Regions from separate parts of the Homo sapiens genome. Here all the other regions are linked to region 1. The links are contacts of gene promoters, found by promoter capture Hi-C in blood cells and fetal thymus (Javierre and others, 2016). All regions are on one chromosome and are shown on one strand. Each heading gives the region's core, a stretch centred on a gene start or on the middle of the fragment in contact. The rest is flanking DNA. Distances are from core to core; before and after follow the strand shown.

What was found. The method cuts DNA at HindIII sites, captures the fragments that hold promoters and counts their contacts. A CHiCAGO score of 5 or more calls a contact.
Region 2: a fragment that was not itself captured here is called in contact with the fragment with the promoter of DPH6 in region 1 in 2 of 17 cell types (M2 macrophages and M1 macrophages); the score reaches 7.3 in M2 macrophages.
Region 3: a fragment that was not itself captured here is called in contact with the fragment with the promoter of DPH6 in region 1 in 4 of 17 cell types (fetal thymus, naive CD8 T cells, M1 macrophages and 1 more); the score reaches 7.8 in fetal thymus.
Region 4: a contact is called between a fragment that was not itself captured here and the fragment with the promoter of DPH6 in region 1, in 1 of 17 cell types (fetal thymus). The highest score is 5.3, in fetal thymus.
Region 5: a fragment that was not itself captured here is called in contact with the fragment with the promoter of DPH6 in region 1 in 1 of 17 cell types (non-activated CD4 T cells); the score reaches 8.6 in non-activated CD4 T cells.
Region 6: a contact is called between a fragment that was not itself captured here and the fragment with the promoter of DPH6 in region 1, in 1 of 17 cell types (total CD8 T cells). The highest score is 8.7, in total CD8 T cells.
Region 7: a fragment that was not itself captured here is called in contact with the fragment with the promoter of DPH6 in region 1 in 1 of 17 cell types (fetal thymus); the score reaches 9.3 in fetal thymus.

The regions. Positions count from the first base shown.
Region 1 is chr15:35,544,516-35,547,959 of GRCh38, forward strand. DPH6 (diphthamine biosynthesis 6) reads right to left here and starts at 1,650. Exons shown (of 9, transcript NM_080650.4): 1 at 1,604-1,650. The coding sequence starts at 1,626. It overlaps DPH6-DT (DPH6 divergent transcript), which reads left to right and starts at 1,680. Exons shown (of 3, transcript NR_038251.1): 1 at 1,680-1,958. RefSeq lists an enhancer at 651-1,585 and silencers at 1,633-1,772, 2,073-2,122. The HindIII fragment of the contact is 1,793 bases long and covers 421-2,213 here.
Region 2 is chr15:37,135,444-37,138,887 of GRCh38, forward strand. No RefSeq gene overlaps it. Among named protein-coding and RNA genes, the nearest start is that of MEIS2, 37 kb to the left of the region's middle. The HindIII fragment of the contact is 2,801 bases long and covers 533-3,333 here.
Region 3 is chr15:37,112,620-37,116,063 of GRCh38, forward strand. No RefSeq gene overlaps it. Among named protein-coding and RNA genes, the nearest start is that of MEIS2, 14 kb to the left of the region's middle. The HindIII fragment of the contact is 733 bases long and covers 1,391-2,123 here.
Region 4 is chr15:37,085,349-37,088,792 of GRCh38, forward strand. All of the region lies in intron 6 of MEIS2 (Meis homeobox 2), which reads right to left. Among named protein-coding and RNA genes, the nearest start is that of MEIS2, 13 kb to the right of the region's middle. The HindIII fragment of the contact is 2,819 bases long and covers 525-3,343 here.
Region 5 is chr15:34,034,654-34,038,097 of GRCh38, forward strand. The region is part of intron 1 of AVEN (apoptosis and caspase activation inhibitor); the gene reads right to left. All of the region lies in intron 1 of CHRM5 (cholinergic receptor muscarinic 5), which reads left to right. Among named protein-coding and RNA genes, the nearest start is that of AVEN, 2.8 kb to the right of the region's middle. The HindIII fragment of the contact is 1,225 bases long and covers 1,542-2,766 here.
Region 6 is chr15:34,097,028-34,100,471 of GRCh38, forward strand. The region is part of intron 1 of EMC7 (ER membrane protein complex subunit 7); the gene reads right to left. Among named protein-coding and RNA genes, the nearest start is that of EMC7, 3.1 kb to the right of the region's middle. The HindIII fragment of the contact is 3,064 bases long and covers 399-3,444 here.
Region 7 is chr15:36,874,454-36,877,897 of GRCh38, forward strand. LOC145845 (a long non-coding RNA gene) reads right to left here. Exons shown (of 7, transcript NR_024264.1): 5 at 1,907-2,003. Among named protein-coding and RNA genes, the nearest start is that of MIR8063, 97 kb to the right of the region's middle. RefSeq lists an enhancer at 3,221-3,444. The HindIII fragment of the contact is 1,140 bases long and covers 1,255-2,394 here.

The sequences.
Region 1 (3,444 bases), core at 400-2,899:
AAAAAGGAAAATAATCTTCTTAGAAAGATATGTAAGAATCCCAGTTTCACTTATTCACTTATAATACATAATTATATATAATGCATATATATAGAATACATAGGCATCTGTATCATAAGCATACAGGTAAATGCTTACGTATTCATACTTACAGCATATGTCCTTACAGCTCTTACGCTTCAGCAAGAATTTTCCAACATTGCTTTTTTAGCAAACTTTTTTTATTATAAAGCAACATATGCACATTACAGGTTATTTAGTGTAACTGACTCTACCAATCTTCTCTCCTCCCCTCCAATACTTCTAAGTCTTTGTTTGTTGTGCTTTACTTTAATCGTTAAACTTTTGGCAAGCGATGTAAATTTGAATTATTCACTTCCTGGGGTACTTTTAATTCTTAAAATAAGACACAATGGTTAAAGCTTAATCATTTATGTTACAGAGGACATTTACTGAACAACAATAATTATTGTGACATTATGGTCTAGTCTCCTAAAAATGACATTGAAGGAAAGGGAACCGGAATATTCCAGACACTACAGTAGGTCTGAAATCTCATATCAAGTCCTTAATAGGTCAAAACTTACAGCCAGTATCAATTACCTAAGGGACTTAACGAAAACGTTTATGAAATCTTCAATTGGATTACAAAAGCAAGCACATCGTTGCACTGTATCTAAGACACTCTACAGGGCAAAATCTCATGAAACAAGTATTTAAGTAGTCTAACTTTTTAATGTTGCTAGTGTGTTCCCTTCTGCCTCAGTTTATAGATTGAGTATGGAAATATTTAAGCAGGTTTGTTTTTGGTTTGTCAGTCACAGGACTTATTTAGACACTTAAATTTATGATTTGGTTACTACAGACATCAAACTCCTTTTGGAATACGGAGTATAGGGTAAGGTCACTCTAAAGCAATGATGAGAGTCCGAAGCAACAGCAACTGGATCTAGCATAAGACTAGTACAATTCGGTCTCTACCACGAAGAGAGATCTCTGTACTTGAGTGCCCAAAGGCAGAAACACACACATGCCATAAGCAATCCACATCTGTGAAGATGAGGGAGGGGTGGACTTCTTGGGATGGGCGGAAACACTTACAACTAGGGAGGAAGCCAGGCTGCGGCGGACCCAGCTGACCAAAGGAACTACAGAAGAGGACGAAGAAAGCGAGGGGGAAAGGGCGAGGGTTATTAACTGAGTTGATGGAATAAGGTAGTGGCTCCAAACTTCACGGCTCATTAGAGCTTGAAAAAAAAAAATCAGACGCCGGGTCGCACAGAAGTAATTAAACCAATCCCTCTGGCGGTGGGGCCCAGGCGTCGGTACTTTTTTTAATTTCCCACTTGAATCCAATGGGAATCCAAGTTTAAGGGCTAGAAGACCAGAGAGCGACAGACAGGGAGGAGGCGCGCCAGCCAGGGGCCGAGGCACATGCGGGCCGGCAACAGCGAAGGCTCCGCCTCTTCCTGTGGCTCGGAGGAGCCGCGGAACCCCCAACGCGCGACTCAGACGGAGACACCCACTCTTTCGGCGCTAGCGGCGGCTGGAAGGGACGAGAGCCTGGCCTAGGAGGAAGGAGGCGGCTCCAGGACCGCATTACCTGATCAGAGCCGCGACCCTCATGCTGGGCGCAGTGCGCGTGCGTGCGGCGAGCGCGGGCGGGAGCCAGGAGGTCGCGCCGCAGCTCGCGTGACGCACCGCGGGGCCTCGCCCGGGTGTTCGCTCCGCCGCCTGTCCGCGGATCGGCGCTGCGAGCCCCGCGGCTGCCTGCGGGACACCTGAGCGCGGAGGGTGCGGCACCTTGGCACCTTGACCCTGTGGCAGGGACATCTCGGCCCAGGAAAGAATGAGGTTTAGGCACGGCCTAACCACCTAAGTGAGGGCACTGAAGCTGCCGGGGGAAGGGCAAGGTCCGCGTTGCAGAGCCCAAGCCCAGTGGCGCAGGATTTGTTTTGGTAAGAGGGGATTTAGCGTCCCAATTGCTGCAAATTGACACAGTTGCGGACGTGCAAGCGCAGAAGAAATTTGTCCTTCCTCACCCCACAGAACAGAAACAACTGTACACTTCTGCTTTTTAACTTACATCTCCTCTGTCCTCCAAACCTGTGTGTCCAGATGTGAAACTCAGATCCCCAGGGGCTGTGGTAATTTTTAAATCTGGGGCTAGCCCCCCCCACCTCTAGGCCCTCTGTGGCTTTGGCTCTTGGTCAAGCTTGTGTATTTGACAAGGCCAGGCCAGGCTCTTCACCAAAGAGCAATGGCCTTGCAGAAAGAAAATCTAGCTTCTAAGTTTATTTGCCAAGTATGTATTGAGTGCCTTTCGTGTACCAGGCACTGTTTTAGACTCTGTGGATACAACCGTAAATAAAACAAAAACCCGGCATTCCGGGCATAGAGCTTAAATGGGGATGGAGAGAACAGACAATACATATCTTAAAGGTAAATAGTCTGTTGAAGAGTGAAAAGTGCTATTGGAAAGGGGCGGGGTGCGGTGGGGGAGAGTCAGGAGAGAGGTGGAGAGGCAAATTGCAGAATTAAATCGTGTCTATGTAGGCCTTATTGGTAAGATGAGAGTTGAGCCAATTTAAATAAGGAGAGTTCGCTATGTGTATGATTGGGGTGTGCTCCAGACAAGAAAAAAAAATCGAAGGCTCTAGGTGCGTTGTGTGTTTGTGGAAGATTAAGGCAGATCCGTGTTGCTGGAGCAGATTGAGCAAAGCAGAGAGTAGTGGAGAGCAGGTTAAGGTGATGGAGGGGAAGGATTATATAGGGTCTTGTAGGTAATTGCAGACTTTTGAAGGGTGTGACTTAAAATTTTAAAAGGATTGCAGTGTTGAGAATCCACCTATTAGGAAGCTGTTACAGTGTTCCAGTAGAGAGATGGCGGAGCCTAGAATCAACATGGTGAATTTGGTGAGAAGTAAGAGGATTCCAGCTCTATTTTGAAGATAGAGCCAATAGAATCAAATTCGATATGGGATACAAGAGAAAGAAAGTCATGAGGGATGATGCCAAAGGCATGAATTAAGTAAGTTAATATATGTAGGGAACTTAAAATTATGCCAGGTACATAGTAAGCATTCAATTTTATTTTGACATTCTCAACTCTAATAGTAGGGGTGACTAGAGCAGTGACAGTCTACATATCAGTTTTAGCGTCTAGAATCATACAGCTTTAAGATTTTGCAGTTATGAATATTTACCAAATGAGTCAAGTATTTAAGAAGTTTGCAGTCTAATTGGAGGAGATAAATACGTGAAACACACTTAAAATGATACAGCTCCAATGAGTGGAAGAAGCACCAGGGCTCTCGTCTCATGCCGAATTGGGTAAAATGACACAGACACACATGGAGTGGTTTTAAGGGGTGGAGAATTTAATAGGCAAGAAAGAAGGGTGAAGAAAGGAAGAAGCTCCCCTGTAGAGACACATGGAAGTGG
Region 2 (3,444 bases), core at 683-3,182, 1.6 Mb after region 1:
CTCACAACTGAGTGCTACTCAGTTTCCAGGGGTAACTTCAAGGCCACAGCTAATCCAAACCTTCTTCTCATCAATGGCCTCTTACTCTTGAGCCACTTCTGTAGTCTGGCATCAGTAAGCCCACACACTTGCACTACTCCCCTCTGCGTGCCAGATGCTTCATTTTCTTGCAGCTGAATCCATTGGGCGCAGTGCTCATGAGGCCAAAAGACTTTGTGCTGCACATTAACTTCCTCCTTGGGCTTTCATGCTTCTTATTTGGGAGTCTTTCTGTTTCTCTTATTTATAGAGAGTTTTAACTTCTGGATTTAGTTTAAATGTTACATCTGATGTAATATACTTTCCTCCAAAATTGTTGAGTAGCAACCACATTTTAAATGAATCCAATACACAAAATTAGGCTTTAGGATATTATTAAATTTGTAAAAAAAAAAAAAAAAAAAACCCACAGTAGATGTATATTTGTAAACTGGAATCTTAACTATGGTTAGACACTAAGAAAACATTTAAAATATAACTGTAAGGGAGAAAAAGCTTTGTTTGATGCTAGAACATAATTAGACGTTTTAGGGTTTTATTTTAATTTAAATTCAACTTGAGTTTTTGGAATGAAAATGCCAATGAGACACTAAGAACTTTTATTAAAAAAGATGGCCAAAAAGTCGAATTGGAAAAGATAGAAATATGAAAATATTCCTGTGCATTTATAATGGCTGACATTGCTATATCATGTCATTGGTCTGCTGAACGATATTCCTGTAAACTATGATCAAAATCGTCATGATTTCTAGCACATTTATTTAATGTTTATTCTATCCAAGTCTCTGCTGAGAGCCACAGGAGACGAATAAGACAGGGCCTATGGCTTCAAGAAACTTAGAACTGTATTGTAGAGCTAGGATTTAGGTACATAGAAAAGTAAGCATAACAAAGGGAAGATTACAACGGATGCCAAGTTTGTATTCACACAGGAATTCAGAGAAAGAAGCGGAGTCTCTGCTCAAGAAGGTTTGATGGAGAAAATAGAATTTGCTCAAGTCTTTTGTTAAGATTTTGATAAGAAAGCTAAAAATTAAAAAATAAAATGCTCCAACATTGAGAAGTAATTGAAGTTGCCTTTACTGTGTTTGTGAATGTATTTTGTGGGATATGTTTGAGGGGAATATGTTTGGGAAGTAGTTTTTCAATACAAGAACAGACATTAGTGAGCTTTGTGAATGTTGTACTTTATTACATACCGGAAAAGAAATAAGATGAAACACATTTTCAGTCAAATAACGTAATATAATATGAAAAGTATTGCTTGTTGTCAGCCTGATAATCAGAATATATTTTAACTTTTTTTTAAAAAAGCTAATAACTATAAAACACCAAGATAAATTTTCCTTGAACATTCAGTGATTCACTGGATGAGTCATACATTTTAAAAATTTCTGCTATTTTCAGTGTACCTTGAAAATTTTCCATATTGTAAACTATGTTTTCTTACATGCCTATAAGAAACAAAAACCATGTTTGGAAATCCAGTGTCTACTTGAATCTGGAATATTAATGCAATGTGGGTTTATATGGTCTGAAAGTCTTGTATATTTATGCCATGTGAGTTGATTAGTATCTAAACTTTGAAAAATATTCAGGGTAGAAAAATTATAAATTATTTGTCATGTCAGAGTTTAAAAGGTTTGTAGAAAGACCTGGGTATTTTGTAGCACACAAGATGTGATATGCCTTGGGTGTGACTTCCCTGGTTGTGTTTTGAAAGCAACCTCTACTTTAATAAGACAGTTGTGAATCAACAGTCAAACTAATTTTTGATTACTGGTAAGTGAACATTTAAAACTGGAGCCCCACTTTTAGACGTGGTGGTGAGATTATATTGGTCTCCATTCATATCTAGAAGCACCTCAGTCTGATGGTTTATTCTATACGCAAGGCATTACCACATACAAGTCTCCTTGCTTAACTCTTGTATTATTCACAAGAATGCCAGAGCAGACATATTAATACTAGTCTGCAACTGGCATTATTCCACATACTCAAGAGTTTTCATTCTGGGATAAGCACCATTCACTGAAGGCAAAAAGTAGCATAAGTGAAAGAAAATCACATTGCCTGTTGCATTTTCCTTTTTTGATGACTAAATGCATCCAAACTATGGATCAGCAAACCTTTACTGAATGCTGATTAAATAGTATGATATAAACTATTCATGCTATAGACATGTGCTGTACAGTATGGCTCCCACTAGACACATTGCTATTGAGTCCTTGAAATGTGATTATTGTGAATTTAAAGTGTTGTAAGTGTAAAGTATACACACAGTGTTCAGATACTTAGTATGGAATGGGAACGTAAAATATCTCATTAGTAATTTAAAAATGTTGATTACATGTTGAAATAATATTTTGGATATATTGGGTTAGATAAAACTATTAATGAGATCGATTTGACTTGGCTTTAATTTTTTAACCTGGCTACATAAAATTAAAAATTACAGATGCGGCTCACATTCTATTTCTTTTGGATAGTGTTGCTATAGACCTTCAGAGAATGGACCCAGAAACAAGTGCTGAAAAATACGAAATACTAGAAAAACAGATGAGGTCTCAGCTGAGTCTTGAATGACATAAAGGCTTTGAATTAGAAAATGAGAGAAGGCTAAGTGTGTTTTTGGATAGGAGATTAAGATAAATAAACTGGTGTAGAATTGTAGGTGTTAGAAACCAAAGGTTTACTTTAAGTAATAGTGCAGAGTATTTGGTTATCTTATAAAGGGTGACAAATTCTGAGCACTTACTACCTTAATAAACATAGTTATCTACTATTGAGTCCTTAGAATATGAAGTTTGCATACATAAATTTTCATTTAAACTCTACAACAATCATATAAGGCAAGGTTTATCGTATCAATTTTATTTTATTTTATTTTATTTTTGAGATGGAGTCTTGCTCTGTCTCCCAGGCTGGAGTGCAGTGGCACAATCTTGGCTAACTGCAGCCTCTGTCTCTCAGGTTCAAGTGATTCTCCTGCCTCAGCCTCCCGAGTAGCTGGGATTACAGGTACCCACCACCACGCCCAGCCAGTTTTTTTGTATTTTTGGGAGAGACGGGGTTTTGCTATGTTGGCCAGGCTGGTCTCAAACTCTTGACCTCAGGTGATCCACCTGCCTTGGCCTCCCAAAGTGCTGGGATTACAGGCCTGAGCCACCGCACCTGGCCAAGTTTTATCATATCCATTTTATAAGTGAGGACACTGAGGCTTAGATAGGCTTCCTGAATTACTGAATATCATACAAGTAGGAAGGGACTGAAACCTTGAGTGTCTAACCTCAAAGCTTGTGGTTTTAACCACAGCATTGGAGACAGGTTCACCATGAAGCTAATGGAGCTTTACACTTCCCCCACACTTGTATGTACGACTTCCACGGGGAGGAGCTCAATTAA
Region 3 (3,444 bases), core at 507-3,006, 1.6 Mb after region 1:
ATGGGTTTTTTAAATCTCTATTTGACAGAGGAGCAGACAGATTGGGGATAGGGCCCTTGACCTCAGATAATTACTTCAGTCGTCCCTCTTCAGCAAATTTAATTCTCACGCAAAGAGTAATTAACAACCTCTGACTATTCTATGAGAATTTCCTTTCCTTTTCTTATCTTAAGGACCCTCATAGGAATATTGAAGAATATGTTTAATGGTAGTTTTTAGTTTCACTGCATTTAAACATTTTGCCTTCTGCTCACTTCTTCCATAGTCTACTGGAACACATTTAACAGAGTCTTGGGCTGTGTTCTGACTCCAGCACATGAAATTGGAAAATCCAGTCATCAATTTACTGCCCTTCCTACTCTCCACCTTGACCCCAAGCAAAGCTATTCACTAGACAACTCTTCGTCAATGGAAAATTCCTTAAGTTTGCTTAATGAGGAGAGAATGTCAGAAGAAAGAAAAAATTTTAATAGTAAAAAATGCCATTCTCTCCTTTTGACTGCCTGACAACTTTGTCTCTACAAGTGTCTCATTCAGGGTTACAAATCAAAATTACATGTCAGGATACAAGCCACAGTATTGGAACAGGAAGAATGAGCACACAGACCACTAGCTTTTCAAAGGCGACTGAGGTCTCTGCAAGGCTCATGTCCTAAATGGAGAGACATCTTATTCAAACATCTCTAAGGGAGAGGGTTGAATCAGATCACTTCTGAGGCTGTTTTTAACCCTAGAAAGACAAAAAGGGACTCCAAGGGCTAAAAAGCCATCAAGAGCTCAGGCTCTGGAGTCTGACGGGAAGGGGCTGAATACTAGGTCTGGCCTGTGCTGATTGTGAACTCTTAGTAGTCACCTGACTCCTCTAAACTCTACTAACCTCATGCATAAACTCAGCATAACAATGGTTGATATTACTGGACACATTTGTCAGCCCCTGCAGGTCCACCCTTTACTTTCCCCCTCCTGGTTTGTGCCCCTGAAGGCTGGTACGGATGGTTTTAGAATGGCCCTTGTTTCCTCTTGGGCTTGCCTAGAGTGGGCAGAGCGAGGTCTGGGTGCTGATTCCCAGGGTCCCTGAGGGCTGGCTGCATTCCAGCCACAGCTCAAGCAGTCTTCTTCCCAGAGTTCCATTTCTGGATTTAGGTAACAATGTCCTTCTCCAGTACTAGCCTTGGGGCAGTGTACTGTCCCTCGTGGTTTCCTAACACCCTGCTCACACCTTTTTAATAAAGTTCCTTTATTAAGCTCTCCTCAAATTACCCAATTTGATGTGTACCATCTGTTTCCTGCTGGACCTTGACTGATACACCTTATAAACGTGTTTAGAGGATTAAAATTAAATGAGATAATGCATGTAAAGCACATAGTGCAGTTCTTTGCATATAGTAAAAGCTTAATAAATAGAGCTTTTATTTATTTTTACAATTATCATTTTGTGCAACCCTTTCATTTTATATAGGAGGAAATGGAAACTCAGAACTGTTAGGAGAAGCATTCAAAGTCTAATTAACTGAAGGTAGTAACAATCCTGGGACCAAATCCCTGAACTGCCTGCTTGAAGTTCATTGTTCTTCCCTCTGCATCTTGTTGAGCAAAACAGATGAGAAAGGAGGGAACTCTTATTTTCATAGATGTTGGAAAAAGGGTTAGACGAGCTAGAGGCAGAGGTGTAGGAGGTAATAAGCATTTTCCATGTATCATTGGGCTTGTCCCTGCTAAATTACTGCTGAAATAAAGGAATGCCATTGCAATTTAGAATCCAGTGATTTCAATAACAATAAAATGGGTATGTAACAGGGGGCGCAATGTATGCTTGACAGGTTAAAAACAAATTTATGAACATATAATTTGAAGTTTTATCAGGAGGCATAATAATGTTTTAAGACTATATAGGGTACACTGAAATTAATTTTTAAATAAAGGCTGATTTTTGGATTAGCAGTGTAGAAGTATGAGCTTTATAATTCTTTAAAATATAATACTCTGCTGTGAACTCATATAGAACCAGAACACTGAATCCTGAGCCAGAGATGTTCTGTAATGTAATAGCATTAATAACTGGATAGAAAATATTCAATCACTAATTCCTACATCCATTCAGTCGTTCAAATAGATATTCATTAAGCTTGCAATATTCTCTAGGTGCTTTTATGAGTGTTGACATATAAAGATTAATTAAATATATTCTCAGCTTCAATGGGTTTTTAGAGGAAAACAGAGGCAGGCGTATAAAAAGATTTTGGTATGAACAAAAGTAGAAATATACCTAGGCTACTATGGGAGACTTAAAGAGATTGAGTGGGGTACGGGGAATTGAGAGTAGAAGAGGCTTTCTTAGGTCAGAACTAAGTCTTTGCAAGAGTCATGTGTTTCATTTCAATTACATTTTAGCCTTCTATATTCTTCCAAATTATCAATGATACTAATGAATTAAGATTTAGCTTTTATTAGTATATACATTAGTAATAAAACCAAAAAAGCACATACAATATTGCATTACTTTTTACTGTAGGAGGTTGGCTGAGGTATATGTGGAAACAGAAACATTTAAATAAATTTTCCCTTGGTGACTAGAGTGTATGATAAGAAAAGTAGAATAAACTTCAAAGGTGATATTATACAGAGACTCACTTGAAAAATGCCATCTTCAGAGATTTCATTCATGTACTTTACCAATTGTGTCTTATTTGTATAATGAATTGGACCAGGCTTATTTGAGATATAGATATACAGTTTGAAAACTAAGTCGGAACGTATTTGTGAAGAAGAAACATGAAGTAGGGCCATTTGTTTTAGGACCTAGGATGCATTCATATACAATTGAACATACTAATAAATAGAACACAATTTAAGCAGGTTATTTGTTTTTACACAGTCTTTACAAAATTGGTTATTTCTCTCTCAACGTTAATTGATGCCTAAGTATAATTTACCATGGTAATGCTGCTAAATATTTGTGAATCTTTGTTGAAGTTCAAACTACAAAATTACATTATCTTGGCTAATTCTCATTCAGGTTGCTCTTGTCCACTTACCCTGATCATCCCCACTTGGTCCACTGTTTTCTTGTCCACCTCATATCCCCAAATCCATTCCCACTCACATTGTGTGTGTGTGTGCACGTGTGTGTGTGTATGCACACGTATATGTCCGTTTTAGCCACCCACATCTATGGCTACAATGTGGAACTGAAAATTACTTTCAACAGCTCAAATGTAGAGATTCAGTTTTTTTAAACCCACTATATTACCCTCTGTTAAATACAAAGGATTCTTTCTTCCTTGTGGCCCTTATTGTGTTTTCTGGTTTCTTGATTATTTTCTGCCAATTCATTAGTCATATCCTGATTTTCTTGATCTTCAACCCACTTTAATAAATGTATTAAACTGTAAACTAATACAATTAATACATGTATCTTTTAATTTGCTTTCCTGTTTTCAAAGT
Region 4 (3,444 bases), core at 684-3,183, 1.5 Mb after region 1:
TCAGTCTGTCATTTTTCTCAGCATCAACTCTACAGTGTACATATAGCATGGATGATGTTACCAAAATAAAACAAGAAACCAAGGTGAGAAAAAAATAGGGAAATGTTCTTATTTGGAACTACAAAACTTATTTTTCCCCCTACAGATCTGCAGCAAACTGACTGTGAATTAATATTTGGCATTTTTGATAGATTATGAAATAATAATCCAGAGCTCTATGGATTAATAACATCTATATAAAATAATGATACTGGCACTGCTATCAGGCAAGCAATTGATTCAAAGTGAAAACCCTGAGCAGAAATTTTGTGACTACAAATATGGCACAGGTATAGATCTCTAAAATAAGGATATGTTTGAGAAAGTAGATTAGGGAATGAAATTGAGTAGAATAAAATAAAAGTCAAGGTTTTCTGCTGCCTGTAGAAAGACAAAGTCATGCCTGTGAGCTCTCTTTTTAATCTAAGTTAGAAACCACTCCAATAGTTTCAAGCAAAAGGCAAACAGAATACAGGGGCTCCTCAAGCTTTGAAGCCTCTTCGTGTCAGCTGTTTGCCGGGCGGTAATGAGATAAAGAGCTAGAAGAATTACATGGAAAAAAAAAGAAAGAAAAGAAAAAGAAGCAATAGCATGGTGTGAGTTTAGTCCTGCGACAACACAGGCTAGAGGCTTCTTTTAGAAAATGCAATAGCTGCAACATATTCACCTAAGCTAAACTTTTCATTGTACACAGCAATGATGTTAATTTTATGCACTGCAGGCTTTTTATTAAGCTGGCTGCTATAAAAGCTCCTTACCCCTCATGAAAATTATAATAATTAACCACTAACACCTCAACTATGTTTTAAGGCAAATGTCATCCAATAGCTATTATATAATCGTTTATATGAAGCCGGAGCAAGTCTTTCTGTTTAGGTGCTGCATTGATTTGAAGGGATCACTCAGAAGGACTTCCTGTAACTGAAAACACTGGTTTGTCCCTATCAGCTAAACTGGTGCTGAGTTTTCAAGTTAGGCCTCATTCGTTTATAATTCAGTGTATTTCTTTCAATGGTATCTGAAGGAGATGTTTTCTAAAGTAAAGGGGTGAAAAATAAGCCACAGAAGCAAATATTACTTTTAAGAGCAGCTGGTTCTTCCAAATAAATTGGGTCTTTGGTTTTCTGCCCATTCCCAAAATATGCTTAAGTTCACTCTTTAACCTACCATTCCCTTATCTCTTCCCTCTTTTCTTTCTCACTCTTTAAAAATGCTCTCCTGAAAAAGTGTCATGTTTATTTCCCATAGAGTGTCTCAAGTATTATGGTCTTGTTTGAGAGACTGAACACCAACTAAGGACTATCACACGATAGTCATCTGATTTGAAAGAAGGAAGAACAGATAAATCCCTCTGGGGTTTCAAGGCTGAGGAGTTACCACAAGTTGTTTGTATTGAGCTACACAAGGTGGTGATGTGATCATATACAAATACAAATGTTGATAATCTGGTCAACAAAAAATTGTTCCTCCTTGGTCATAAAAAACTGTCACTGACATGGATGGACAAAACCTATTACTTTTAACAATTTGTTTTCCCTGAGATTAAAATATTTGTTTATATCACAACTCCTTTCTTCTATTCTTCCCCTTAGAGTTTACAAGTTTCCATCCTTCAAGAAAAATGGCATGGCTTTCTGCCAAATTATATGCAGAAGTTTAGTGAATCCTGAAACCAAAGTGACATACAAAAGCATGTAAAAACACATGATGCAAGTAGAAAAATAAAGAGAAACGCTCGCCGGGTGCCCGTGTATGACTGAGCATTCAGGTATATGCATGCCACAATATATGTCCTGTTCTCCAGCCAAAAAAATCATGAAGACACCCGAGGGCAAGGAGTGAACATGTTTCTATTCCCAGTGGCTTTGGTAATTGGGAGTCAAATATGGTACTCTTCTTGCTCTTACGTAATTGTGTTACAGAGCAGTGTTACCAGGAGAAAAGCAGTGAATACTGAGTGGAGCACAATAGAAGGAGATGGAAAATAGATACAAGAAGCTAGGTCTCTAGGGGCAGTATTTTCTATTTGCTGGGCTACAGACTCACAGCTGATAATGCAAGTTGTAATTAATATAAAAGCAGGAGACAATATGGGCAGAGCTTGTAGTAGTGGGGCCACAGGAGAGCGCTCTGCTGCTCTACTCTGTTTCTCATTTACACACAGCTTTCCCTAGAAAACACAATTGTGCCAGTGTTTTCTCCCTTGAAAGTTAAAAAAAAAAATTGATTTAGCACTATCATTGAATTTTGCTAAATCTAGAAAAGAGCATAGAGAGGACAGGAGTCTCTGGGCATAGGAAGCAAATCATATGTGTGCCTCTCTTGTTGAAGTTGCAGATACACTGGAATTGTAACATTTTAAACCATTATGGCATTTCCATGAGGGACCTACCTATAAGAGAATACTTAATAAGTCTCGGTGAATTGGTGTTATTTCCCTATTTAAATGATTCCACATGGCACATGGTTCTTCCATGGGGCCAGTGGGGTGAAATGTATAAAGTGTTTGTAAATAAATACAAAACTGAATGGAGAAGTAAAATGTATGAGGCTTCAAGGAGAAAAGCAAAGGCCATGCCACATACAAGTTCTATCTAAAATAATCTGAAACTCATTTTAGATCCCAAATGAAAAGGCAATGCAGTGGACATGGTATAGGAAAGAAAACATTAGATTGGAATTAAGATGCTGGCATGCCACCTCTCACCAGTCAGGTGAACTTAAGCAAGTGATGTACCTCATTTCTATGGGGCTCATTTCCTTTATCTCTTTAAAATTAAGAAGTTAGACCAGATAACTTCTAGAACCTACACAACTATATAACATCAAGAGAAAAATTACATGTAAACTTGGAAAATAGAATAAAGTAACTCAGGGTATGTGCTCATAGGTAGAGAGTAATAGTAAACATACATAAAGATATTTTAATCAGTAAATGAAGCATGTACAACTAATTTGACTCAATATATTTAAACAACAAAGGGAAGATATACTTGTATCAACATACATAATTAAATTACTTATTTCCCATAACTTTATAATGTTTTAACTCCTAATTAACATTATGCAAAAAATATTTTTAAAAATAAAACAAGGACTCCTATCTTGGGGTACTGAAGTCTACAAAAGTTAAAAATGTTAATTGTGTGGTTTGAACAAATGTTGGAATTTCAACTCCGGTGTTGTAAAGTTGACATAAGAAGTCAGGAGACCTATGTGTGCTTTCAGAACCTGGACTCACTCTTTAAAAATGTAAATAAAGCTGGGGTCCTTCCCTCACCTCCCCACTTCTACCTCTCTATTAAGCTTTGGGATTAATATGTAAGCAACTCTCACAGAAGTGGCAAGCACCCTTTGCAAATGATTTCTCCATTTAGTCGAGCAACTTTTAGAGAAGACAGAAAT
Region 5 (3,444 bases), core at 904-3,403, 1.5 Mb before region 1:
TGTGTTGATATTGAAAATATGTAAGTGAAATAGTGGTCAGTGAGAAAAGCAACTTAAAAACAGAATATGTTAACAAGGATAAGGATGCCAAAATAATTACAGTGTGTGTGCAATGGTTTGCAGCAGGAGGAGAGGTCAATTTCATGGATTACCAAGAACTAATCTTAAAGCAATCTTCTGTTGGGACACTTAAGCACATTCAGTTTCTAACCAAATTTGCTTCAGGCTTTCTGGAAAAAAAGGAAAATAAAGTCTAGAGGCTGTCATTTCAGTTTGAGCTTTTAACAGGCTCTCAGTCTCTAGCTGGCTGACAAGCGGCTGGTGGCTACTCTGAGCAACAATGAAGGAGCAAGTCCTTAGACACCTGCCTGTAACTGATCTGACACCATTTCTTCCCTCCAGGTTCACACTAAACTTGAATAGAAAATTAGAGATTTCCTTTTTACCCAGTGAAATGAAAATGTCAACGCCATCGGGTATTAATTACTACTCAGGCTTTGTTTACAAAGCAAAAGTTTGATCAGAATTAAATGCCTCCAGATTCTACTTTTTAGTACAACTATAAACAGCTGTCTCATCTTTTATTGAATATAAATCATTTTAAAAGGAATATGAAAAGCTGCAATATAAACATGGAGCAAGAAAGCAAAGGTCTGGTAACACCCACAATAACTGAAGATGGTACCAATGTTACCTTAAAACCTTATAACCATACTAACATATCAGTTAAAAAAATAATCAGGCATGTGAAAGAATCACTCAACAGTCCTCCACACACCCCTTTTTCAAATCTCAAAGTCATTCCAGGAGCAGTTTAGAGCAGCAGTCGAAAGAACAGGCTCTGGAGTGAAAATGCTGGGGTGGAATCCAGGCTCAGCAATTTTCTGGTTGAGTGATATTAAAAAGTTATTTCACCTCTCCTAACTGTGAGTTATTTAACGGTGCCTCAGCTGTCTCATCTTATATTAAGTACTCGACAAATGTGAATTACTGTTATTACTAGAGGAAGGAAAAAAGAAAAAAAATTCCAAAGACTACCAGCTGGCCTTGTCTTCCTCTCTGCTAACAGCCCATCACAAAGATAAATACTAAACAATCCTAGTATTGGGGGCAGTGATAGGGGGATTATTTATTCATTTAGTTAGTAAGTTAGTTATTTGAGACAGAGTCTCACTCTATTGCCCAGGCTGGAGTGCAGTGGCAGGATCACAGCTCACTGCAGCCTCCACCTCCGGGGCTCAAAACAATCCGGCTGCTTCAGCCTCCCTTGTAGCAGGGACTACAGATGCACCCCGCCATGCTCGGCAGTTTTGTATTTTTTTTATAGAGAGGGGGTCTCGTTATGTTGCCCAGTCTGGTCTCGAACTCCCAGACTCAAGTGACCCACCCACCTCAGCCTCCCAAAGTGCTGGGATTACAAGCGCGAGCCACCACACCCAGCCAGTTTTGTGTTTTTTTTTTAAAGTTAATGATTGTATCTAGTACAATAATGCTTCTAGTGAGTATTCCGTGAAGATAATTATGCTCACCCATAATCAGTAAGCTTAGAGCTCAGACCATTTACAGAAGGAATGATTTAAGAGCAAGAGACTAAGAGATGTACTCAACTTAGTACTCAACTAAGTTACCCTGGAGTATTACATAGCTATGTAGAAGTTGGTTAGATTGATTTTGTTTTCCATTTGTATGCAGTGGTCCAAAATAGAAAGCAAAGGTGTACACAAAATTGGTTTCTGAAGGTGGACAACTGGTCTTTACATGGCTAGGAGTCTATTATGATTTTTTTTTCCTTTGATCATTTCGGTTACTCTCTCCTTGGGGCACAAATGCACCATGGGATATGAGAACAAGAAGGCTTCAGGAAAGTCAATCAATCTTGTCTCATGTAATGGTTAAGCACCAAAAATGGTGTCCTAGCAAGACTAAATACAAACAGTACTTCAGAATCTGAGAAATGGAAGGAACTTAGAGATGACCAATCCAAACCAAAATTAAGGAACAATCTGCCCAACATCCCTCCCTCCAGCTTTGGCTGAAAACATGATGATGAAGGGATAAGACCAACTCGACAAAAGAAAAAGCCTAAAATTTTAACAGAATGTGTTACAATACTATCTTAAATTTTTTAAAGTCTTGTATTATTCTTTCTTTTAATGATATACCATCATGACCAGGCGCAGTGGGTCACACCTGTAATCCATATCCCAGCACCTTGGGAGGCCGAGGCGGGTGGATCACCTGAGGTCAGGAGTTCGAGACCAGCCTGACCAACATGGTGAAACCCCATCTCTATTAAAAATACAAAATTAGCCGGGCAAGGTGGCTCATGCCTGTAATCCCAGCTACTTGGGAGGCTGAGGCAGGAGAATCACTTGAACCCGGGAGGCGGAGGTTGCAGCAAGCCAAGATCATGCCATTGCACTCCAGCCTGGGCAACAAGAGTAAAACTCCGTCTCAAAAAAAAAAAAAAAATATATACCATCATTTCACCCAATTTAATTCAACAGAGATTAACAAAACAGAAGCACCTTCACTCACTCAATTCAACTTAAAGACACTTATTAGTAAAGTCCTGTGCGCCAGACACCATAGTTAACACCAAATGTACCATTACTACAATTACTCTTAAAGCACGATCCCTGCAGCTAAGGAATATCTACTTTGTTCTCAATAAAGTGGTAACTGGTTCACGAAAAAGTAAGAGATAAAATACTGTTGACTCAAGGGCAGCTTGATATAAATCCCAGCTCTGCCACTAGCTGTGAAAGCTTAGGCAAGTCAGTTAACCTGTAAAAATAAAGATTACTCTCTATATATGGATATATAAATAATATATAACATTGTAGTTAATATATAATTACATACTATTATATTACATAATTCTACATTACATATATATTATATATATATAATAGAGTTATAAGAACAAAATGTGATATATAGTGGGCACTAGGTTGGTCTTAGTTTCTGTCATTTACCTTAGTTTCTGTCAGTTTACACGAGGTAAACTGACCCTAAAAATGTTTTTATATCTCATTCAAGTTTTGCCTATTACCTATCTTAATCCTAACAAGATTTAAGTTTGTTACATTTAAATTTAAGTTTTATACTTTTTTTTCCAGCTCTGTATTGCTGTATACAACTACTCTCTTTAGGGATATCTTATCTGCTATGCCCTCAAGATATTGTAAATACTTCAGTAAGAGCAAATTTTGCCTCATGCAAAAAAGAATTTTTTAAATCAGTGTGCATAAGAATGCAGAATATAAAGATGGTCTTGTCCTACAGATGTTAAGGTAACAGAACAACTCATAAAAAGACAGTCCTCTAACTCCTTTAGCTGAGATATGGTTAGCTTTGCCCCCATATATATCATCCCCTGCTCCAATCTCCAAAAACTTCCTTCTATGAATGTGTCAATAAGACTGATGATATTGCTATTAA
Region 6 (3,444 bases), core at 681-3,180, 1.4 Mb before region 1:
CTGTTCTTCTTCTTTTTTTTTTTTGAGACGGAGTCTCACTCTGTTGCCCAGGCTGGAGTGCAGTGGCCCTATCTCGGCTCACTGCAAGCTCCGCCTCCTGCGTTCACGCCATTCTCCTTCCTCAGTCTCCCGAGTAGCTGGGACTACAGGCGCCCTCCATCACGCCCGGTTAATTTTTTGTATTTTTAGTAGAGACGGGGTTTCACCGTGTTAGCCAGAATGGTCTCAATCTCCTGACCTCGTGATCCGCCCGCCTCGGCCTCCCAAAGTGCTGGGATTACAGGCGTGAGCCACTGCGCCTGGCCGGTTTTCTGTTCTTTTTAACAAATAATAAAAGGTATTTAAGTACCATTTGTTCTATTTGCTATAAATAATTCCCATTTACTTTGGTTACTAGAAGCTTAAAATGTTTATGTAGTTAAAAACATCCATCTTTTCCTTACTGATTTCTTCTAAACTTCCTAGACTTAGAAAACCATCCTATCAAGAGCTGATAATTTCATTTCACAGATCAAAATTAATTTGTTTGAAAAATGAGAAACTACTATTCTGAGGGGGGAAAAAAAGTTTATGTTTCAGGAAAACAAATGGTTCTAAAATGACCAACTGTATCAGAGAATTCCCGATATCATAATAATATATTAAAATAATGCTTCTTAAATCCTCATAGGCTCTTTCATAGTTAAAGGAATAACTGATACTGATGATATCCACAACAGTTACTAAAAAGCAAGATGACGAGACCATCCTGACTAATACGGTGAAACCCTGTCTCTACTAAAAATACAAAAATTAGCTGGGTGTGGTGGCATGCGCGTGTAGTCCCAGCTACTCAGGAGGCTGGGGCAGGAGAATCACTTGAACCTGGGAGGCGGAAGTTGCAATGAGCCGAGATTGTGCCATTGCACTCCAGCCTGGGTGACAGATCGAGACTCCGTCTCAAAAAAAAAAAAAAAAGTAAGATGAAAAAGTGTCACTCCAGAGCACACTAAGCCAGAATTGAAATGTAAAAAAGTTAACTTATGCCTGGCCTGGACATGTTCCATTTGCCCTCTAGATCCACTCTCTACCTTTCTCCTCTTTGCAGACTGGAGGAAGGAAAGAAAATGAGCTTAGTCTATTTTCCCCCCAGACCTCTCACTGACAGGCCACCTCTGACTGGCTGTGTTAAGGGACTGGTTTGTGTCTTTCAATGCAGGCCTTTCTTCCCTTCAAGGTTCCAGTAACCTCTACTCTCCTCTTCCTTCAGGATTAGAGGTGGTGATAATAACCTTGAGGATGTAAGCTCCAGGGTACTGCACAATCTGGCTGTTTCCCAACACCATGACTACACTGTTTGATGCCTTCATTAAATTATCCTTGAATTACTCTAATTTGAGTGCATCTTCTACTTCTTAATGGGACCCTGACTGAACCAATTTCTTTCTTTCTTTTTTTTTTTTTTTTGAGACAGAGTCTCACTCTGTCACCCAGGATGGAGTGCAGTGAGGTGATCTCTGCTCACTGCAACCTCCGCCTCCTGGGTTTAAGTGATTCTCCCGCCTCAGCCTCCCTAGTAGCTGGGATTACAGACTACCGCCAGTATGCCTGGCTGATTTTTTTTTTTTTTTTTTGTATTTTTAGTAGAGATGGGGTTTTTCCATGTTGGCCAGGCTGGTCTCGAACTCCTGACCTCTGGTGATCCGCCTGCCTCGGCCTCCCAAAGTGCTAGGATTACAGGTATGAGCCACCGTACCCAGCCCTGACTCAACCAATTTCAAAACATTTTTTCAGATCCAGAAAAAAACAAACTGATGACAGTGGAACACAAATAATATCAGAAATAATTAAAGAAAAAGCAAATATATTTATCATCCTAAGGTAAATATTTTACTTGAGAAAAATAACATAAAGTTTGCAATACAAAATTTAAAATTCATCCTTAAAAATGTACTCTACAAAATGTAGGCCTTATTGGATCCTGATTTGAAAGAACAATTATATAAAAAATATTTTTGAGAAAACTGAGGAAACATAAAAATGGGACTGTTAGATGATATTAAGGCATGATTATTTTGTTGAATCAATAATGGTAATGTGGTTTTTGTTTAAGTCCTTATTTTTTGGAGATACATAATAATGCTTTTACAAGTAAAATCCTATTATGCTTAGAACCATTTAAAAATATTTCAGAAAAAAATTAATGAGGTACACAAAAGACATGAAACAAAACAGTAGAATGCCATTCTATAAATGTTTGAAAATTTCTATAATAAAAAGTGCAAAAAAGTATAGAATATAATATTACTATGTAAACAAACAAACAAACAAAAACACATGAAAACCACCTGTCCAAAAACAGAGGACTGGTTAAATAAATTATGGCTTATATACATTGTGATGATAGCAAGAAATGGCATGAGGAGTCTTCAGGCCCAATTCCCTTTATCTCCATTAACTAAGTCCTAAGCCACCTCCAATAAGCACAAATGTAAGTCAAAACTGTGTGCTAGTTATGCAAAACAGCTACAATACAAATTACCTACCCCTTTTCCAATAAGATTATCACCATAAACTCCTCATATTAATTCTCCATCAATGTTTCTTTTTTTCCTGAGAGACGGGGTTTTGCTCTGTAGCCCAGGCTGGAACGCAATGGCATGATCACAGCTCACTACAGCCTCAACCGCCTCGGCTCAAGTGATCCTCCCACCTCAGCCTCCTGAGTAGCTTGGACTACAGGTGCACACCACCACTCCTGGCTAATTATTTATTTTTTGTAGAAATGGGGTCCCACTATGTTGCCCCAGCTGGTCTGAAACTCCTGGGCTCAAGCGATCCTTCCACCTCAGCCTCCCAAAGTAAGATTACAGGTATGAGCCACCGCGCCTGGAAATTCTCCATCAACCTTTCTACATACAAATAAAGAACATGAAATGGTATCAAAAGCTGTTCAAAAATATTAAGTGAAAAAGGCAGGATACAAACTACTACATGTTGTATTTTACTAGTAAAAACCTAAGTCATATGATTCCAAAAGAAGCTGGAAAAATGGTAGGCACCGTGGCTCACGCCTATAATCCCAAAAATGTGACAGGCTGAGGCAGAAATATCACTTGAGGCCAGGAGTTTGAGACCACACTGGGCAACATAGCAAGACCCTGTCTCTACAAAAAATTAAAAAATTAGCTGGACATGATGGTGTCCGCCTGTAGTCCTATCTACTGAGGAGGCTGAGACAGGAGGATCACTTGAGTACAGAAGTTCGAAGCTGCCATGAACTATGATCTCGCCACTGCACTCCAGGCTGAGTAACAGAAAAAGACCTTGTCTCAAAAAAATAAAAAGAAAGATACAATGAAACATTAAGGGTTGTTTTCCTACTTTGTTTCTAATATACTATTTTTAAACAGAAATTAAATGCTTTTTAAAAGAACTGTATACAGAAGAGTGGCCAAATGGTCA
Region 7 (3,444 bases), core at 575-3,074, 1.3 Mb after region 1:
CAGAGCTAACTAGTTTTATGAATTGGACTAGTCAGTTGCCATCATTAGGCCTCCAATTCTTTGCTGGAATGATAAGAGAAGTTGTCCAAATTATTCCTAAAGTCCACCATTCAGCTCTGAAACTCATGACAAGTAAATATTCTATTTTGAATTTTCATTAGGTTAAGGATTTAACAATAAGCTGAAACAGGATGACTAACCCATAACATGTTCCAGAAAAATACGAAATGACATGTTGAAGAGCATTTAAATTGAACAAAACAGATTTGTGTGTGTGCCACTATTGATATACAAATGTTGAATGTGTTTTACTGTATCTACTGAATGTGATTGATAGGAGAGGCATCAATTTCAAGGTTTGTGAATTTAAGTAAATTGTTGTCAGTGGTATAGCTTCTTAAAAAAATTATATCTTTACAGTGAACAGACAAATTGAGACAGGATATACATAAAGCATCAATTTAGCACAAATATCCACTTACAATTGTGAAATATATATATATATGTAGTTGGGAGTTTTTCAGAAAATTTGAGGAGCATTTTTTAAATTGCTTATGCTTTTTAGAATGCTTAGCATTTCTGTTTTGAAAACAACTTGTCTTCCTTTTCAAAATGTATGTGCGAAGCTGGCTCTGATGTCAGAATGAACCATTTTCACAGGATTGGGTCAGCTCCCACTCAACATTTCTTTTACAGAAAAGAAGCCGGTGATGAGGCAGTATTTGAGCTCGTTAAATCTCAAACCCCCAGCGTCTTTTCCAAAGCACTACAAAACTCTTACATGTATAATCACGAGGAGGAAAAGAAGAGAATATAGTTTGTCTTTAACTAAATTATTAAATCCTTGTTTTGACCCTTTCCTTTCTACCTTGATGCTTTCTGCCTCCACCTTTCATTTAAATTTCCTCACTTTGGGATGAAAAAGCATGAGTAAGTGTGGTGCATAAAAAGGAAAACAAGCAAATAAATAGAAAACTTGTCTTTTCATCTCTCCCATTGCTGCTTTCTTTTCCCTCTCATTTCTCTCTGCATCGAACTTCAATTGTGTCTATTTAAATCCTTCCTATACCCAGGATATTTTAGGTTTCCAATATTTTTAAACGGAATAAAAATAGTTTAAAAAATGTTAAATGCATGTCACAAATATTTTACAGAAAAACTTGCTTTGAAACATAAGTGAATATCAAGTCGGGAAAATAAAAGTTTTCTTCACAAAATCTATAAGTGTCTTCCTTCACTTTAAAAGGTTTTTAAAGCTTATGAAGGAAGCCACTGGAAGCAAGTTCATGTTTAGCAAGACTAGCCAAAAAAAGAAAAAGAAAAGAAAAAGAAAGAAAATAAACTGATTTAATGGGAGCCCACCCTGGGTCTAATTTCAAAGTTTCCATTTATGTCATGTCAGATTTGGGGAGACTGAACCCTCATTGAATGCACTGGGCTGACTCTCTCCCATGCCTGATACCCAGGGTTCATGACTGCAGTTCCTGGCACAGTCATAAATATTCATACCTAGACTAATAATTTGCAAGCCAAATTCATTTGGCTTTTTTCACCTCATCAATCTTATAATTAATAAGGGTGGTGCTCTTGTTTCACTTTCCTCCAAAAGAAAAGATAAATGAAATAAAGAGTCATCCTGTAAATTTAAATAGGAGTGCCTCTCACTGATTAAAAGCTGATGCTATCATATAATGGTGGAAGGGGAGGCTTCAGCTATTTCTCTCACTGGTGGCTGGGGCGAGGTGAGGAGGTGGTGATGGGTAATGCAAAGGAAGCATTTCCAGATGTGGCAGCATGAGCCTTAATCTGAAGAGTTTGGTTATCTATTAAATAATGCATAGGAGAACGTTGAGATATTATGTTAGAAAAGAGTTGTAGGATATATATTTACAAATTGCACTCTTACCTAGTATTTTGATAGATGGACACTTAATGTAGCTGGACATTGAATGTAGCATGCCAATATCCAGAGAATTGGATTCTGAACAGCCTGCAGTTTCTGCCTGCAGTTTAGAAATTTAGACATATTTTAGAAAATTGTTAAAATTTGCTGATCTTTGAGTCTTCAAAGTAACTGCCTTTGAATTAGTATGATAGCTGTGTTCCTAAATCTAATTGGAAAGACATGGTTTCCTCAAAAACATTAAAGGAGGTATATATATATCACAAAATAATTTTACAAATAAATCACAGTACATACGACACAATGTAAATTGTCTGCTCCTATTGGATTTTCTAAGATCTTTTATAGCAAAGCAGGAGAATCAAATTGAACATAATTTTGAAATAAAAGTTTGATAATTGAGTTAAGCAGCTTGATCTTGTCAATCACCTGTGACCTTAATCTATTTACACTTCATTTAAACATTCAAAAAGTCCCAAGGCTCATGGATAAGCTTCAAAGTATGAACAACGGTCTTCACTCTGTTTTGGTGGGCAATATCAACCCTTTTGAGCAGATTATTTAATCTGTTTTAAAATTAAGAGACCTGGATAAATAAAGAAGCAGGAAAAGCTTAACTCTGCAGTTAGGTATTCACTTCTAACTTCTTTGAGGGTAACTTACTTTAAAGATGTGATTATCTGTTATTTTTGTGTATTGGTTAGTTAGCTTTAAGAACTGTTGATACTTGAGCTATTCCTGAGACCCACCTAATTTATGTAAAGGCAATGGAAGGGGATACTGGGCACTCTTCATATTCTTTATCTTTAAAGCTTGTATTTAATTGTTTCATTCTTTAAAAACCGACTGTGTTCAGGGCAGTCCCTCTTTAAACATGTCTAAGTGCATTTGCACAAAAGATATATTTTACTTCTTAATTCTATGTGAATGCAATTACACATGTGATTTACTGCAAAAAAAAAAAAAAAAAAAAGAAAAGAAAAGAAAAGAAAGAAAGAAAGAAAGAAGGAAAAAGAAAAACTGCTTTCCTCCGCTGACCTTTAAAAGAGGAGGGTAAATGAGAGAGAGAGAAGCAATACTGACTGACTGGGCCTCCTAGTGTTTCCCCGACCTGGTCTAGTCAGCGGCTTCCGGGATGAGAATGGTCTGAGATCCTAGAGGCCGTGGTGATCTGGGTAAGTGGCACAGGTGGGGACCCCAAGGCGCCTTTACAAGGAGTTCTCAGCTGGTGGGGGAGCTCCGTCCAGGTTTCTTGTAGAGGTGTGGAGGGGGCTAAGAGGGAACTATCTTGTCCTCACCCTCTGTCGAACCCTTCTCAACTTTGCTTGGCTGAGGGGGATCATCTTGGAAAACTCACGGTTAGGTAATAAAGTCTCTTTCCTCTCCTACTACTTTTCAAAAGCAAAATTAGACCCACTTAGAGCTTGTGGGTGTTTCTGGGTCCTTGCTATTGATCTCCCGGGTCACCAAAACAACTCAGCAGCTCCTGCAGGTGTGTCCTCCGAAGGCATGGGAAGAGAGATCTAGGAATGGCAGAGGCG